4 separate regions of the Homo sapiens genome follow, and all the other regions are linked to region 3. Evidence: promoter capture Hi-C in 16 types of primary human blood cells and fetal thymus (Javierre and others, 2016). All regions are on one chromosome and are shown on one strand. The core of a region is centred on a gene start or on the middle of the fragment in contact, and the rest is flanking DNA. Distances in the headings are between cores, read along the strand shown. Region 1 overlaps MYH10 (myosin heavy chain 10). Region 2 overlaps MYH10 (myosin heavy chain 10). Region 3 holds the start of SPDYE4 (speedy/RINGO cell cycle regulator family member E4). Region 4 overlaps NDEL1 (nudE neurodevelopment protein 1 like 1).

The links. Contacts are between HindIII fragments. The CHiCAGO score rates a contact against its expected background, and 5 or more counts as called.
Region 1: a contact is called between a fragment that was not itself captured here and the fragment with the promoter of SPDYE4 in region 3, in 10 of 17 cell types (megakaryocytes, total CD8 T cells, naive CD4 T cells and 7 more). The highest score is 10.9, in megakaryocytes.
Region 2: a fragment that was not itself captured here is called in contact with the fragment with the promoter of SPDYE4 in region 3 in 1 of 17 cell types (megakaryocytes); the score reaches 5.9 in megakaryocytes.
Region 4: a contact is called between a fragment that was not itself captured here and the fragment with the promoter of SPDYE4 in region 3, in 4 of 17 cell types (total CD8 T cells, megakaryocytes, monocytes and 1 more). The highest score is 9.5, in total CD8 T cells.

Annotation. Positions count from the first base shown.
Region 1 is chr17:8,476,116-8,480,065 of GRCh38, forward strand. It overlaps MYH10 (myosin heavy chain 10), which reads right to left. Exons shown (of 43, transcript NM_001256012.3): 41 at 2,223-2,331; 42 at 761-933. Among named protein-coding and RNA genes, the nearest start is that of NDEL1, 42 kb to the left of the region's middle. RefSeq lists a silencer at 696-990. The HindIII fragment of the contact is 8,636 bases long and covers 1-3,950 here.
Region 2 is chr17:8,493,757-8,497,882 of GRCh38, forward strand. MYH10 (myosin heavy chain 10) reads right to left here. Exons shown (of 43, transcript NM_001256012.3): 31 at 1,381-1,485; 32 at 1-129. Among named protein-coding and RNA genes, the nearest start is that of NDEL1, 60 kb to the left of the region's middle. The HindIII fragment of the contact is 1,393 bases long and covers 1,933-3,325 here.
Region 3 is chr17:8,756,996-8,760,983 of GRCh38, forward strand. It overlaps SPDYE4 (speedy/RINGO cell cycle regulator family member E4), which reads right to left and starts at 1,551. Exons shown (of 7, transcript NM_001394956.1): 1 at 1,279-1,551; 2 at 267-497. The coding sequence starts at 1,387. The HindIII fragment of the contact is 1,936 bases long and covers 76-2,011 here.
Region 4 is chr17:8,456,102-8,460,190 of GRCh38, forward strand. It overlaps NDEL1 (nudE neurodevelopment protein 1 like 1), which reads left to right. Exons shown (of 9, transcript NM_030808.5): 8 at 3,908-4,059. Among named protein-coding and RNA genes, the nearest start is that of NDEL1, 22 kb to the left of the region's middle. The HindIII fragment of the contact is 339 bases long and covers 1,545-1,883 here.

The sequences.
Region 1 (3,950 bases), core at 1,420-3,919, 280 kb before region 3:
CTCTCCCACAACCCTGCCTGCAGAGTACGCGAAGCAGGGTCCTTGGAGAACTGGGGAGGACTTGATTCAGCCTAGGACTGTGTGATGGAAATGGTAAGGAAGACGGATTAAGGCCAAGCTCTACCTGCTAACCAGGGAATCAGCCAGATAGCAAAGTGGGCCACATAGGGACTCTGTTGCATATTCTTTGTTTCGGCGTTTTTATAACCATTTAAAAATGTAGAAACCATGCTTAGTTTGATGGCTGTATAAAAGCAGGGTATGCACCAAATCTGCCCATTGGCCAGATGTGCTGAAACCTCCGCCGACCTGGTCTTCTGGGGCAGAGACTTCAGCTGTAGCTCTCTCACGCTCTGCCCTCTCACTGGTACAGAGCAGATCCATTGTGGTGAGGAGGACGGTGCTGAGGAGGGCTGATGGCACCAGGTCCCAGGAGGAGCTCCTGCCCTGCTTTTTAAGAGAGGCTGGGAGCTCACTTCACTAATGGATATCTGGACAGGGATGGATGCCTGACCCAGCTCCAGCCTGGTGTGGTGGATTAGTGTGGTCCTCTAGTGACTGGCAATGAATAGGGCCGCCTCCTCTTTTATTCTCCCCAAGGACGACTATAAAGGTCAGAAATCTTAAATGAAGTGGTTCGGGAGAAAGAATGGGTCACTGGGTATGGATCTAAGTAAACTTCCTCTGACCAGCTGCACCCCGAGCCTAAGCTAACCCACAAAGCAGCTGCCTGTCAGCTCGGGGCCGCATGCCTGCTCACCTCAGCCGGTTCTTCAGGGTGCTGACCTCGCGGCTCAGGCCCTCGTTGGCCTCGGTGGCATCATCCAGTTCCCGCTGGAGTTTACGCCGAGATGCGTTGGCACGCGTCGCTTCTTCTTCTGCTTCCTCCAGCTGGCGTTTAAGCTGCTTCATCCGAGCGTTGGCCTTCTCCATCTTGGGGAGGGTACATGAACCAAAACAAACCAAACTGGTGAATCCAGTGTCGGCCTCTCTGTACCCCGAGCGTGGCAGTGTGGGGCTCTGCCTGTTACCCTTGTGAGCACGCGTGTACACGGATGTACACGCGTGCCTGGGGGCTGGTCGGAGGCTCTGTAACCGGCCTGCCGCTCTCAGCAAAGCTAGCATCTACAAAGCACACTAGGCCAAAAGAAATGAAAAAGTACTCAAGACTCTGTTTTTACCAGTGAGTTTTCTGCAGAAAAATGACAGCGTTTACTGTCTTCACACACGTGACCTAGGGGACTGAAAGGGAATTGCTATTCTTGCAAAACGTGGAAGAACCAGCAATGTGGGACAATCCCCAGCCCAGAAGATGGTACAATGCATCTTTACACCTCCTTTCAAGGATGGGCATCTCAGATACTAGACTTGGATTCAAGCAGAAAGCCACCCTGGGATGACATGCCACAGAACTAAGAGCCTCCCTTTTGGACCCTTCATTCCTGAGCCACACAGGCACTGGTCAGTGCTTCGTGGGTCCAGCGCACACCACCCTCAACTGTGCTCCGTGTTGCTAGGCCCCAAGGGTGGGGGTGGGAAGGGAAGGCCAGGTTGCCTGACTGAATGAATGAAGTTGGGGAGGGTTCGGGCCAAAGGCAGTGAAATCCTCAGATCCATCCACCTTTCTGGCCAGTGTCTGCAGTGTGAAGTCTCACCAGGCAGAGGGCAGGGAGCGGGAGGGAGGGTATAGCTGCCCACGCTGCAATCAGGGCAGGCCTGACCCACAGTTCAAAGTCCTGCGGAACATTCCCTGTGTACTTAGAAAAGGGGGCCTGGATGCAGACGCTGAAGCTCACTCGGGTGCAGCGTGCAGTACCTTTGTCTTCCCTTCACTTTCTATTCAGTATCTCCTGTGCCCACCCTACACCCAGCCAGTATCTCATGACTGCCAGCAATATCCAGAAACTATACTAGGCATTAGGGAGATAACAGGGAGCAAAACAGGCAGAAATCCCTGTACTCACGAAGCACACATTCTAGTGGAGGAAGCAGGAGCTTTACAGTTCAGTCCAGGCCTCACTGAACTTGCTTCCTGACCTGCTCTCCCCGCCCTCCTGTGTCTCGGGTACTGGGAGTGCCCACCAGGAACATGGAACAGCCCACGTTAGCTGAAACATCAGAATCGGGAGGGCCCTGAATTCCACTGGTCAGTTGTGCCACCAGCTCATTCTCCACCAGTTCCTTTGCTCACGCGCTTCCCAGGGAGGCACTTCCTCGCGTACCTGCTCTTTATACTGGTCCGCGTGTCGACGCTCATCCTCAACCTGCATGAAGATTTCTTTCAGCTTCTTCTCAGTGCGACGGACTAATTTGTTGGCGGCTGCTCGTTCCCTGTGAAAGTGGTCACAGTAGTTTTGAAATTCTTGAAATGGTATTTTGTGTGGGAAAAAATATTTTTTAAAGCCCCTTTTCTTTGGGAAGATGACACATGGTGGAGGCATTATGGACCTCTCTGTCCAGAATTCATGACTAATGTGCTGAAACCTTTCCTTCTGGTCAAAATCAGAATTGCCTTTAATGTATTCCTCAATAGTGACAGGTAGAATAAGTGCATTATTCCTGCACGTGTAGGTGTTAATTACTGTACACAGGTATTCATCATTGTACTCAGTTATCTTACTTTGTTTGTTTTTGAGATGCAGTCTTGCTCTGTCGCCCAGGCTGGGGTGCAGTGGCGCCATCTCTGCTCGCTGCAACCTCCGCCTCCTGGGTTCAAGCAATTCTCCTGCCTCAGCCTCCTGAGTAGCTGGGATTACAAGGCATGCACCACCACGCTGGGCTAATTTGTGTATTTTTAGCAGAGACGGGGTTTTACTACGTTGGCCAGGCTGGTCTCGAACTCCTCACCTCAGGTGATCTGCCCGCCCTGGCCTCCCAAAGTGCTGGGATTACAGCCGTGAGCCAGCGCACCCGGCCTGTACACAGTGATCTAAAGAGCAAATGTTACATACAATCTACCTGTCAGTTATACTGAACATAGACTTTTGAAGACACCATCCTTAGTTTAATCACCTAAACTTTTAGCCTGAGAAACAACCCAATTTATTAAGTGATTGTTTCACTTGATAATTTACTAATTACCTATTGTGATGTAGAGGGCTTTGGCAGCTCACATTGAAAAAAAACCCAAAAACAAACCCCCTACACTCCCTCTTTGGTTAGAGGTGAAACAAATCCATGTTTCCAGATGCATCTACGTCGTCCCATATGAAGGAGAGGTAACTTATTTGGAGGACTCCATGGAAGACAGAAAAAGTTATTTTGTTGCTTAACAAATATTATGCAAAAGTAGATAGAGACAGTCAGCTGAAAGGGTGTTTATGTTAATTCCAACTAGAAACAAACCCTTAATTGTTTGCTTCAGCCCACTGGAGTCCAAAGAATGGAGTGGGAAGTCCTGGCACGAGAGGCTGGGGAGGATGCAGGGTTCTGGCCGCGAGCCCTGCATTTCTGGGCTCCAAGCTCCCCAGCAAGAGGGTGAATCTGAAGGTCTGCCCTGGCTCTGGGCGCTATGACCTAATAGCTTTGTAATATGCCTGCCAGCAGCTGTACTGTACAATTTCTCATCAATTTCAGAATGCTTTAATACAACAATATGAAAGCTGTTAAGCAATCCCTTCTATGGGGAGAAGAAAGGCTCTGATTTGTGTCATACTGCATTTGTTCTCTGGCAGCAAATTAGCATTTCATGGGCTGCCACACGCTTGGGAAATCGACTTTGGGTAGGAGATGCAAACTCAGGGTGCCTAGGAAATCACGGGGCGCCGTCCTAAAGCCCAGCCTTCCCTGACTGTTCACGGATGCCGTCTGTCCTCCCAGGCTCTGAATGCTCACAGCTCTTCTCTCACAGCTCACACCAACTTCTGTGTCCCACTCTGGTTATATGTGTTCTCTGCCCACGTGGTGGGGAGCCCCCCCGAAAGGGGCATGCCTGTTTTGTCTCTGACTGA
Region 2 (4,126 bases), core at 1,379-3,878, 260 kb before region 3:
CTTCTCCAGGTTCTTCCTGGCCTCCTCCTCCTCCTCCTGCTGCTCCTGAAGACTGTTCTTCTCCTCTTCCAGCTGCCGGATCCGACTGCTCAGGTTTAGTTTCTGGCGTGTCTCCTCCTGAAGAAGCTCCTGTGTTTTTTTTTTAAAGGGCAACACTTCCATTACATTTATCACCAAAACAAATACACCTGTATTAAAGAATTCATGTCGTACAAAAGAGACAGCCTCAATGCATGAGAACGCCCAGTGACATTAACAAACACAGATGATTTAAAAACACACACGATAACTTTGTAAAAGCTCTTCACACCAACACTGCTTCAGACTCATCTCTGAAAAACGAATGGCGGCGCCATCCACCCAGGGGCCCAGGCTGGAGCCTCCAGGCATCCCCGAGGCCTCCCCTCCTGCGTCCCCCACCACACCCCGCCTCTCCTCAGTCACGCCTGGAATCCCTTCCTCTCCACCCCCTGCCCCGTCTTAGTTCAGGCCCTCAGCCCTTCGAACTAGGATCACCTCTCCCGTCTTAGGCATCCCTCAGTTATCGTCCTTTGTATTTCCTGCCAGATTGACTTCTAAAATGTAAGCACAAACATGTTTTTCCTGTTACTTTCAGACTGCAAAGTCTTCAGAGGCATTGGTTGTGTGGAGCAGAATTTCTGGGCCATGGCTTCGGCCTCCTCTAGTCTCACTCACCAGGCCGCACCTTGTCATGCATGGGGTGTGCTTTGGTAAAAATGAACTTGTCCCCAACTGCCTAATTATTCCACTTTTGGCCTGTCTGAGATTTTTTTTTTTAATCCCCAGCACCTAGCCTAAAGCCTGGCAAATAAACACTCATAAGTGTTTGTAAATTTAACAAAACTAAGCTGTAAAACTCCAAGAATAAAGTGCTACATTATTTTCAAGTAACCTGTAGCTGACTTAAAAACATCCCTAACGGATGATGCAATACAGGTCTTAACAGTCTGATAAGCCTCAACTCACCCTTTTACAAAATGGACTGTTTCTCACAGGTCAGCACGATGAAATTCCAACCATAAGGAAACAATCTTATTGGAAATGGCCAGCAAGACATTGTGTGCAGCAGGACCATAGCTTGGGTCAACCACAGCCCAGGCAGCGGCCGTGAATGGCAGCTGGAGCTGTCTCCGAGGCCACCCACGTGCCTGCCAGACACACGAACCCCAGGGGCTCTACATCAAGACACTGAGCTTCCAGGGAGAAATCCCGAGTAGCAAGGCTGGCTCCAAATAAAAGTATGACATAAAACTAGTAAGAGGTGACACAGAAGGCAATTCTGGGGCCAGCATATTTCACCAGCTTATATATTACAGAAATGTTAGTTATTATAAAGACCCCTTGCTCCCCAGGGAATACCTGTGTATCCTGTAGTTGAGACTCAAGACTAGCTGCATCCTTAGCAAATTTAATACCCTTCTTCTCTGCTTCTTCCAGAAGGGTGGAGACATTATCTAGCTCATTCTGTAAGGAGCAGAAGATTAAATTCAACTCAATAGTAAGCAAGCAGAAAGGGTCTAGAAACACAGCTTTTAAACAGAACACAGAGAAGAACTCGGCGGGAGTGTGAACCTGAAACTACCCATTCAGTTAAGGAAGACTCACCACCAAGAGTCTGTTGCCTTCAAACGGAGCTCAAATAAGTAGGTACTAGAACCTGCCTCCCTGGCCACCTTAATAGTCTCTACCCATGAAAAGGACAGGGGGCGGGGGGTCTCCTAACTGGTTTCCTACCTTCTTCTATTTTTATCATGAAGATACAAAAATTAAAGCAAAGCCTCTGAAAGAGTGACTGTATCCTCTGTGGGGAGGCTGAAGGCCAGCAGGTGCTTGATTTTGGTCCTTCACACGAATATGCGTTAACCATATGTTTTGGGAGGAAAGTATAATTCACATTCTTATAGAACTTGAAGCTTCTATAAAAGGGGTACAAGAAAGTTTTTTTTTTTTTTGAGATAGTCTCACCCTGTCGCCCTGGCTGGAGTGCAGTGGTGCAATCTGGGCTCACTGCAACCTTTGCCTCCTGGGTTCAAGCGATTCTCCTGCCTCAGCCTCCCGAGTGGCTGGGATTACAGGCGCTTGCTACCGCGCCCGTCTAATTTTTTGTATCTTTAGTAGAGACGGGGTTTCACCATGTTGGCCAGGCTGGTCTCGAACTCCTGACCTCCTGATCTGCCTGCCCCGGCCTCCCAAAGTGCTGGGATGACAGATGTGAGCCACCACACCCGGCTGGAAGTTCTTTTAGGTTTCAAAAAACTGGTATTATATGTTCATCATGAATATTTAAGCTATTTCTTATGGTCAGATTTAATTAATAATATTTTTTTCTTCGCAATTAATGATATTTCTAAAATATTTTCCAAACAAATCTTTGTGGTATAAGATGCTTTATAATTTTTGACGACAGTGGGTGCTGGGAAGACGCAGAGGGACGCAGAGGGGCAGCAGGGCGCCGTGCGTTCTCGCTAGTCCTCGTCACACCGGCCAAGGGAGAGTGGACGGTGGCACAGCCACAGCAGAGCACATGCTGTAACGCTTCCATGGTCACTCTGTTTAGCAACATCCTTCACAGAGCTCACACTTCATCAGTCTTGGGAACAGTGTGGTGGGGAAGGGCTCCAAAGTCAAGAGGGACTCCTGCCTTCAGCACCAGCTCTAGAAGTTGCCAGGTAAGTCACCAGAGCGGGCAAGAGCCTTAGCTTCTTTGAGCCTCAGGTTCCTCACCTACCAGAGGGGTTGACTGAGGTTTAAATGGGGAACAACGTACATGGGAGCCTAGCACATGCCTGGTGCAGCACAGGGGACAAGGAACTGTCACTCCCCTCCCTTCCCCGCCGTAGGCAGAGTTCATAATGCTGTTTCAGAGATTTTCTCTTTTAGGAATAGCTTTCCAGATTGTGTGTGAGAGCACGCACACAATATTTCAGTACCTACACGTTAACACAGCAGGCCGGGACCACCCTCCTTCGAAAGGCCTGCTTGCGATGTTGACCTTTGGCTGGTGTGTGGGAACTTGAATTTAGCAAGAGTTCCCACTATTTCCTGAACAATAAGGGTGGCTTTTCTCTAAACTGTCCATGTAAACAATATGGTCTATGTTGAACACCTACGTTTCTTCTGGGAGTCTGCAATTTGGGTTTATGCTAGGCAAGAGGTGCCTATGTAACCAGCCCCTAATAAAAACCCTGGGGGCCGAGTCTGTAATGGGCTTCTTGGAAGAAAACATTTCACGCATGCTGTCAGGACTCACTGCTGGAGGAATTAAGCACGTGCTGTGTGACTCCGCTGGGAGAGGACTCCTGGAAGCTTGTTCCTGGTTTCCTCAGCACCTCAGCCCTCGTGCCCTTTCCTTTTACTGATTTTGCTTTGTATCTTTTCACTGTAATAAATCTTTGCCATGAGCAGGCCTCTGTGCTGAGTCCTAGAGTCCTGGAGAATCATGTACTGTAGTGTGGTCTTGGGCCTCGGACACAAGACAGCTCTGTAATTCTTTTTCAATGTGGCAATATAGGATGTACATCTTTTCTTACCAATAAGGACTCATCGACTATATTGTTTTTGCTGGTTGCATAGAAGTCCGTATTAAACATTAAAGTTATTTCCAACCACAGTCAGCCCTTCCTATCCATAGGTTCCATCTGTGGATTCAACCAACCATGTATTAAAAATATTCAGAAAAGGGCCGGGCGCGGTGGCTCATGCCTGTAATCCCAGCACTTTGGGAGGCTGAGGCAGGCAGATCACGAGGTCAGGAGATCGAGACCATCCTGGCTAACACAGTGAAACCCCATCTCTACTAGAAATGCAAAAAATTAGCCAGGCATGGTGGCGGGTGCCTGTAGTCCCAGCTACCCAGGAGGCTGAGGCAGGAGAATTGTGTGAACCCGGGAGGCAGAGCTTGCAGTGAGCCGAGATTGCGCCACTGCACTCCAGCCTGGCCGACAGAGCGAGACTCTGTCTCAAAAAAAAAAAAAAAAAAAAAAAAAAAAATCAGAAAAAAACCCCTGCATGTGCACTGACCATGTACAGTTCATGACTTTTTTGGGTTATTTCCTAAAAACATGACTTTTTTGAGTCGTTATTTCCTAAAACATACAGTGTAACA
Region 3 (3,988 bases), core at 301-2,800:
CAAGAGATCCTCCCGCCTCAGCCTCCCAAAGCACCAAGATCTCAGGCATGAGCCACTGCACCTGGCCAGAAACCAAGCTTTCTTATTTCAAGTGCAGACCTTTATTAAGACTAGCCTAATCCTCTATCTCCTAAGCATCCTCCTCCTGCATGGAGCGCTCATCCCCCAGGAGGGCATATTCTTCTTATTGGGAAAGTGTGATTATTGAAAGATTCCACTTTTTTAAAAGAACAGGGTTGGAGGTGCTTTTTGGGGTATCCTCCTACCAAGGAGCCTGTTGAAGGCCTCGTGGTGCTCAGGGAGCACGGAGGATGCTCGCTTTCGCTTCAGCTTCATCTTGAGCCCACACAGCGTCTCCACCACCCAGGTGTCCTCGGGCTCAGGGGCGCGCTCCAACTCCAGCTCCTCCTCCAGCTCCTCCTCGGATTCGTCTGACCATTCGCTCTTCCTTTTCAGGCCAAGGGATTGAGGCTGGGGGCTGGGATCTATCCAAGGGGCTGAGTGAAGAAACCAGGCCATGGTGTCATGTTTCTGCCATTGATCACCTTAGACGCCCCGACCCAGGAACCTCAAACTACTCTTCCATCCTCCCAAGCCTCGCAGACTGTCAGCTTCTCCAAGCCATGTTTCCACCTTTCTCCTTTGCTGATCCCCATCTGCCTCTCCCTCACCTCCCCATTCTTCCGGCTCTCTGTCCTCAAAACATTTCCTCATCACAGATAAGAACTTTCAATTGGAGAAAAATGGAAACCTTCCCTTGAGCTCTGTCTGCTCTCTCTCTCTCTCTCTCTTTTTTTTTTTTTTGAGATGGAGTCTCCCTCTTGTTGCCCAGACCGGAGTGCAGTGGCACAATCTTGGTTCACTGCAACCTCCGCCTCCTGGGTTCAAATGATTCTCCTGCCTCAGCCTCTTGAGTAGCTGGGACTACAGGCACGCACCACCATGCCCAACTCACTTTTGTATTTTTGGTAGAGACAGGGTTTCATCGTGTTAACCAGGATGGTCTCGATCTTCTGACCTCGTGATCCGTCCGCCTCGGCCTTCCTCTCTCATCTTTTGAGCACATCTCCTGACCCCCTTCATTGCTCCCCAGACTTTCTTTACACGTGGCCATGCTTGGCCCCATTCCCTGCACCCTCCTTCCCCGATCCCTGGCTTCCTGAGTCCGTCGTTTCTTTCCCACACACCCTACTCAGGTGCTTCAGATTCCCAGTAACTGGCCCCCTTCCCTCTCCTCAGTCAATCATCTCCCATCGCTTCTCCCTCCAGTCACCTCACCTGATGGTCCTGGCACTTCATCATCCACCACCACCTCGGGGGACCGTACCGTTGTGCTAGGCTGGGGGCTCTCCTCCTCAAACGGGGGGCGCGCTTGACCACTGGCCATAATCTCTCCCAAACACTTTGTTTCTGTCCACAAAACCTAGTCCCTGTTCTGTCCAAAGCCTTCTTCCAGACTCCGTTAGGACCCAGAAGAGTGCGTTTCTCTTCTAGAGGCTCGGGAGAAGTTAGGAGTGAAGAGTAGTTCTGAGAAGTTGCTGTTGTCCACCTGAACTCCCAAGCAACCAGAGTCCGGTCCTTCCAATCAGGAAAGTCGGAATCTCTGATGTCATCGGTCATTCCAAACTGGCAACTACTTTGAAGAAAAACACATGTAACTGCCAGACTGATCTCTTTTCTTGGAGATCCGGGGTGAACGGTATCTCCTGGCAATGTCCCAACCTCTGAGCATTGTCCAAAAGCATCCTCAGGGTCTCCACATTCCTCTTTTCCCTGTCCCAGCAGAGGCTGTGTCCTCTCCACTCTAAACTTGAGGGGGTGTTGGGCTCTCCTCCCCGCTTCTCCTTCCCATTTCAGAGTCTAGTCTGGTGAGAGAGGGAGGAAGGTGGAAGGAAATTTAGGGTAAGCAGAATGATGAGTCCTTCCAAGAGTGAGATTAACATATACAGGAGATCCTGGGTAAATTGACTTGTTGAATGGAGACGTTACGTCGAAGTACTCAATGTGGCAAAGCTTTTTTGCTGAATGTTTACTGATATTCACTATCCTGGATCCTATAGTAGGGGAACATGCATCCTTTGCTCTCAGGCATCTTTGAGTCCAAGAGACATTTTGAGGAATGAAAATCACAGGAGACTGTCCATGGTTTCGTACAGATTTTCAATGGTGTCCACAAGTTCAGGGCATCCATGGATCACCTAAAGCCTGCCCTCCAGTTCAGCTAAGGAACTCTGGTCTATATATCAACTATTACAACATATCTATTTCACTTGACCCCAAAATTTGCCTACTATTTATGTATTTTATGAATAAAATATCCTGTGTATAAAAAGACTAAGGGGAAAATCTCAGCCAGGCCCAGGGGCTCCTGCTCATAATCTCCCTCCTTTGGGAGGCCAAGGCAGGGCGTCACTTGAGGTTAGGAGTTCAAGATTAGTCTGGGCAACATAGCAAAACGTCATCTCTACAAAATATAAACAAAGTAATCAGGAATCGTGGCACACACCTGTGGTCCCAGTACTTGGGAGGCTGAGGCAGGAGGATTGCTTCAGCCCAAGTGTTTGAGGCTGCAGTGAGCTATGATTGCACCACTGCACACCAGCCTGGAGGACAGAGTGAGACTCAGTCTCAAAAATATTTTTTTCGGAAAAAATAAAAATGTAAGAGCTGGATACTATCTCAGATACCATCCAAAGAACCTGTGAGTTCTGGCACAGCTTCCTAATGGGCTCCTAGGAGTCTCTCGCTGATGGGAAAGGCACAACTGAATGAGGAGGCAGATCCCGTCGCTGTGGAAGTCCAATTGTTAGGAAACTCTGCTTACATTGAGTGGACCTTCGCATTCACGATGCTTTCAACCATCAGAACTGGTTGGATCCTTTTACAACAAAACAGAAAATCATCTTTCTCTCCTATTTAATAGGCTTTCAAACATTAGAAGATCAATATTCTGTTGCCATTAAAATTTCTCTTCTGTACCACGTAAAGTTCTGATTAATCACTCTTCAAGCCAGTTTTACATATTCCTCTGTCTTCTAGGCACCTTCTGTAGACAGGCTACAATAAGGCAGCCATCTTAAATTATGTCAATACATTGTCCAAAAATGAGCTAAACAGTTCAGGTTTCATCTGATATGTTCAGGGAAAAGCAAAACTATCACTTCTCCCCTTCTCTTTTCCTTCAGTGATGCAGGTTAATACAACAATGGCTGTAGCTATGCACCAAAGATATCATTAGAGTGAAACAGAAGGGCTTTATTGGCTGGCATGGTGGCTCCTGCCTGTCATCCCTACACTTTGGGAGGCCAAGGCTGGAGAATCACTTGAACCCAGGAGTTGGAGATGAGTCTGAGTAACGTTGTGAGACTCCGTCTCTCCAAAAAAATTTAAAATTAGCCTGGTGTGGTGGCACACACCTGTAGTCCCAGCTAGTTCGGAGGCTGAGTTTGGAGGAGAAGAAGTGCTTTGCAAATACCAGCCTTTCAGCCTAAGGATCTCAACTAGGAACATTAAGATACAGATGCCAGGACCCAGCCCCACAGATTCTAATTCCAAAGGACTGAGGTGGGGGCTGATTTAACTTCATCATTGGAGTCCATTCAGATTTGGAACTCTCTGGGTGGGGCAGCGCAATAGAGATCCCAAAGAAAGCAAAATCACTCTCGAATGAAATGAGCAGGAAAGATTTTTTGAGCGAGGTAAGTAAGACCTGGGCCTCACATGGGAGGGCTGTCACCAGGCTTTGTATCCTTGGCTTAGTGGGAACTTTTGAAGCAGCCTCCAAGGCCCCTGTATGCTGGTCGACAAGCCCCCTAACATTGGCTCACAACTGTAATTCCAGCACTTTGGGAGGCCAAGGCAGGAGGATTGCTTGAGCGCAGCAGTGCAAGACCAGCCTGGGCAACTTGGCGAAACCCTGTCTCCACCAAAGTATAAAAAACTAGCCTGGGTGTGGTGGCGCATGCCTGTACTGCCAGCTACTCAGGAG
Region 4 (4,089 bases), core at 464-2,963, 300 kb before region 3:
CTAAAAAATGTAGAAATTGCATTATACTTTATCTAAAGCAGATATGGGAGGCCAAGACACAGGTCCTATGTTTGCCTGTTTCAGCTCATCATAGGGGTTATTTTCTAACCATCAGATTAAACCTGCATTTTTAAGGTTAAAATACAAAGTAAAGTGCACAGGTCGTTCCTACAGTACATAGAGTAATCTTTCTTCACTCCCAAGATAACCATTTTAAAATCCTCTATGTTGGAGTATTTGTCTTTATAACTTGAAATCATGTGCTTATTTTTCTGTTTATCTTGATTTACTCAACTTTAAGCAAAGATATTTTTATTTTTATTTTTTGTTCTTTTAAAAAAATTACTTTAACATTCTTGAACTTTTGTTTCTGAATGTATTAGGTTATATCTTTTTTTTTTTTTTTTTTTTTTTGAGAACGGAGTCTCGCTTTGTTGCCAAGGCTGGAGTGCAGCGGCACGATCTCAGCTCACTGCAACCTCTGCCTCCCAGGTTCAAGCGATTCTCCTGCATCAGCCTCCTGAGTAGCTGGGATTACAGGCACATGCCACCACACCTGGCTAATTTTTGTATTTTTAGTAGAGACGGGGTTTCACCATGTTGGCCATGCTGGTCTTGAACGCCTGACTTCAGGTGATCTGCCTGCCTTGGCCTGCCAAAGTGCTGGGATTACAGGCATGAGCCACCATGTCTGGCCAGTATTAGACTATATCTTAACTCGCTGTTCTCTCCCTTTCTTCCCCACCACACTCCCACTCCGCTTTCCTTTTCTGAGCCCTCTACTAGCTGTGTGAGCTCTCTGTTGGTTGGTTCTAAAAATGGAAAAGTAGTCAAACAGCATTTGTAACAATGCACATATATGTGTTATTTACTGTGTAATCACAGAGGAGATGCTGGACTTTCAGATGGGTCTTTATATTTGTGCCATTCAACAAATGTGTTTTGAGAATTTTGTTCTTTAACTGTAATTTACTCAAAATCATACTGGGTTTTTAAATATTTCGTATTGTAGCTGACTGTACGCTGCTTTCTTTTCCTAGCATTTCTGTTTCCCCTTCTTTCTTTTGAGTAGAAGAAACCTACACCTTTCTTTGCTCTCGGATCTTCTAGCTTCTTCTTCACACTCTTTGTGGGATGCCCTGATGGGCTTCGAGGGCTGCTGCATTGTTGTCGCCCTCGAATTTCTCTCCATTTTACTCTTGGGTTAGTTCTGCCTGTTCCTCACCCCACGTTGTTGTCTGTCTTTGTTCCTTGTTTGTTTTGCTTTAGTACTTTAATTTATTCAGAAGTGGTGCATGAAAGTTTAATTTGGCATCCTTGTATGGTTTACACATTCAGCTGACAATCCGTCTTCTAAGAGTTATCAAAATAACGACCTCCAAAAGTCATCAACACTTTGGGTCTGCTGGTGTCCACCAGCCCTTGTTGGCTTTTATGAATATTTCATTTATGCCTCTTTACACGACTTTGTCCACTGACTTGAACTGGAAGCCCTTCTCCACTCTTGCATGCCTTCACAGAGAAAATCAAGGCCATTTGTTTTAAGCTTCTTTGATTTCTTTTCTCATCTTTTGTTATTACTCTCCTATTATTACCTCTATTTGTAGCCATTCCTCCTTTTTGTCCCAGTGGTAAAAGTGCAAATTCCTGTCCGTGGCTAATTTTGTCCATCTGTGCTTTGGATCTCATTTCTTCCAACCCTTAAATCTTTATTTCTCCTGTATTTCAGCCTTTTACTATATATGCGTTAATATTTATGTATAATGTTTATGTATTACACATTATATGTTATGTGTTATACAGGTATACTTTGATATTTCTGTATTACATGTTATCCATATAAATATATGTAATACTTATGTGGTACATATTACATACTTTAAAGCTTCTTGAAAGCGTGTCCCCATTTATTGTTAGCATTTTGACTGCATGCACACGCCCCAGACACTTTAGCCTGGGCTCTGTCCCCTGCTTATGCCGCTAAAACTGCTCACTGGTGATCTCAGTGCTGTCAAATCCTGTGGATGCCGTTCTGTCCTAATTTTACTTGAAGCATTCAACACTGACCGTTTTTTTTTTTTAATGCCCTCTTTTCTCTCCTTCTCTGATGCTGTTTCATGGCTGCTCCCAACTTTCTTTCCATTCCTCTTAGTCATCTTGTTGGGTCTTCATCTGCTCACCCTTTCGATATTGGTTTTACTCAGAGTTCTGTCCTTGATTTTCTGATCTTAATCACAGCCATAGTTTCATCCACCCCTGGGTGTGGATGTCTTTCAAATCTTAATCTCTAGACCACCCTTTCCCCCCTCAAAAGACCTGGTGCTCGTGCTTGGATGTCTCACTGATGTCTCAGACATAAGTTGTGCCTGCCGTGTGATAGATACTCAATATGGATTTGAATGAATGCGTGTCTTGAATATAGGAATTGAATGGCTCTCAATTTCTACTGTGTGTGTGTGTGTGTGTGTAGCTTTAATAAGCTGCTGAATTATTGCTGAATTATGCTTATTCAGAGTTTGTTTTACAAGGTCATTACCTCTCTTCCTTTTTTCTGTTGTCATTTTAGTAGGTCATTGTACTTTTGTCATAGGAAAGAAGGAGAAGAAAAAAGTTTGTCTGTTTTTGTTGCTGTTTCTTTTTTTTGAGACAGAGTCTCACTCTGTCGCCCAGGCTGTAGTGCAGTGGTGCTATCAAGGCTCACAGCAATCTCTGCTTCCTGGGTTCCAGTGATTCTTGTGCCTTAGCCTCCTGCGTAGCTGGGATTACAGGTGCATGCCACCACACCCAGCTAATTTTTTTATTTTTTCTTTAGTAGAGACAGGGTTTTACCATCTTGGCCAGGCTGGTCTCGAACTCATGGCCTCAAGTGATCCACCTGCCTTGGCCTCCTAAAGTGCTGGGATTACAGGAATGAGCCACTGCACCCAACCATTGTTGCTGTTTCTGAATAGCTGTTATTGAAATGTGGGGGGAGGAGGTCCAAATGGATTCTCAAAGTGAAGTATATGTTACCTGTGGATTTAATTTAGCTGTGCATTCCCAGTCCTTTACTGTCATGGATAATAGACATGAATTGTGTATATATATATTTTGCCATGGATAGTATTTTTCTTTTCGGAGAAGGAGGGGTTTGATTTGGGCAAAGTGTTTATGGGAAAGAGACAGCTGGTGAAGTGTGAGTGTGTGGAAATACATGAGAAACGCCTGATCTCTCCATGTCATCTGCGTTGGTAGAGCCCTGTGCTTGCCAGGTGTTGTGGTGACAGGTGCAAAACAAGGGTGCCCAATTTAGAGGTAAATGCTAAAAGGCCAGTGTCATTTGCGGGTGAATTATTTAATTACAGACAAAGGGTATCAGTTAAACATTTTACAGAGTGCTGTCAGAAATAAAATAGCTTTTAATTTCATGTAAAGTGTTGTAAATGTTCTCATCCATTCTCATGCAGTAGAAAAAATGAAGAACCTAGAGAAAGAATTGGCTGCCGTAAAAAAAATTCTCAAGTGATATTTTTGGGTTTTTTAATAGTGCTTGCTCCCAAAACACACCCTGCCCCCCAACACCAACTAACAGTCTACAGCTTAGAAACGAGCAATGGATAGGGTCAAGAGACCTGGGATCTGCTGTTCCACCTCCTGTACCACACTTTTTTTAGTTGTAAGGGGAAGATTATATGTATTTCCTTCAGTAACGCTAAGAGGAGGAAACAAAATATTCTGAGGTCATTAGAAAGGGAGCATAAGTATTCCCCCTTTTTATTAGAAAGTTGATTGATTATGGCTGAACTAACCACCATTATCAACTGAGATGAGTAAGTTTTGAGGCTTGAAATAGAAATGGTTTGAAATGCAAATTTTTATGTGCAGCTACTGTTTTGACAACCATATCATTCCTCCTTCTTTTTTGTAGGCTTTAGAATCCAAATTAGCAGCTTGCAGGAATTTTGCAAAGGACCAAGCATCACGAAAATCCTATATTTCAGGGAATGTTAACTGTGGGGTGCTGAATGGCAATGGCACAAAGTTCTCTCGATCAGGGCATACATCTTTCTTCGACAAAGGGTAAGTCCTGAATGTTTTAAGTGATAATTT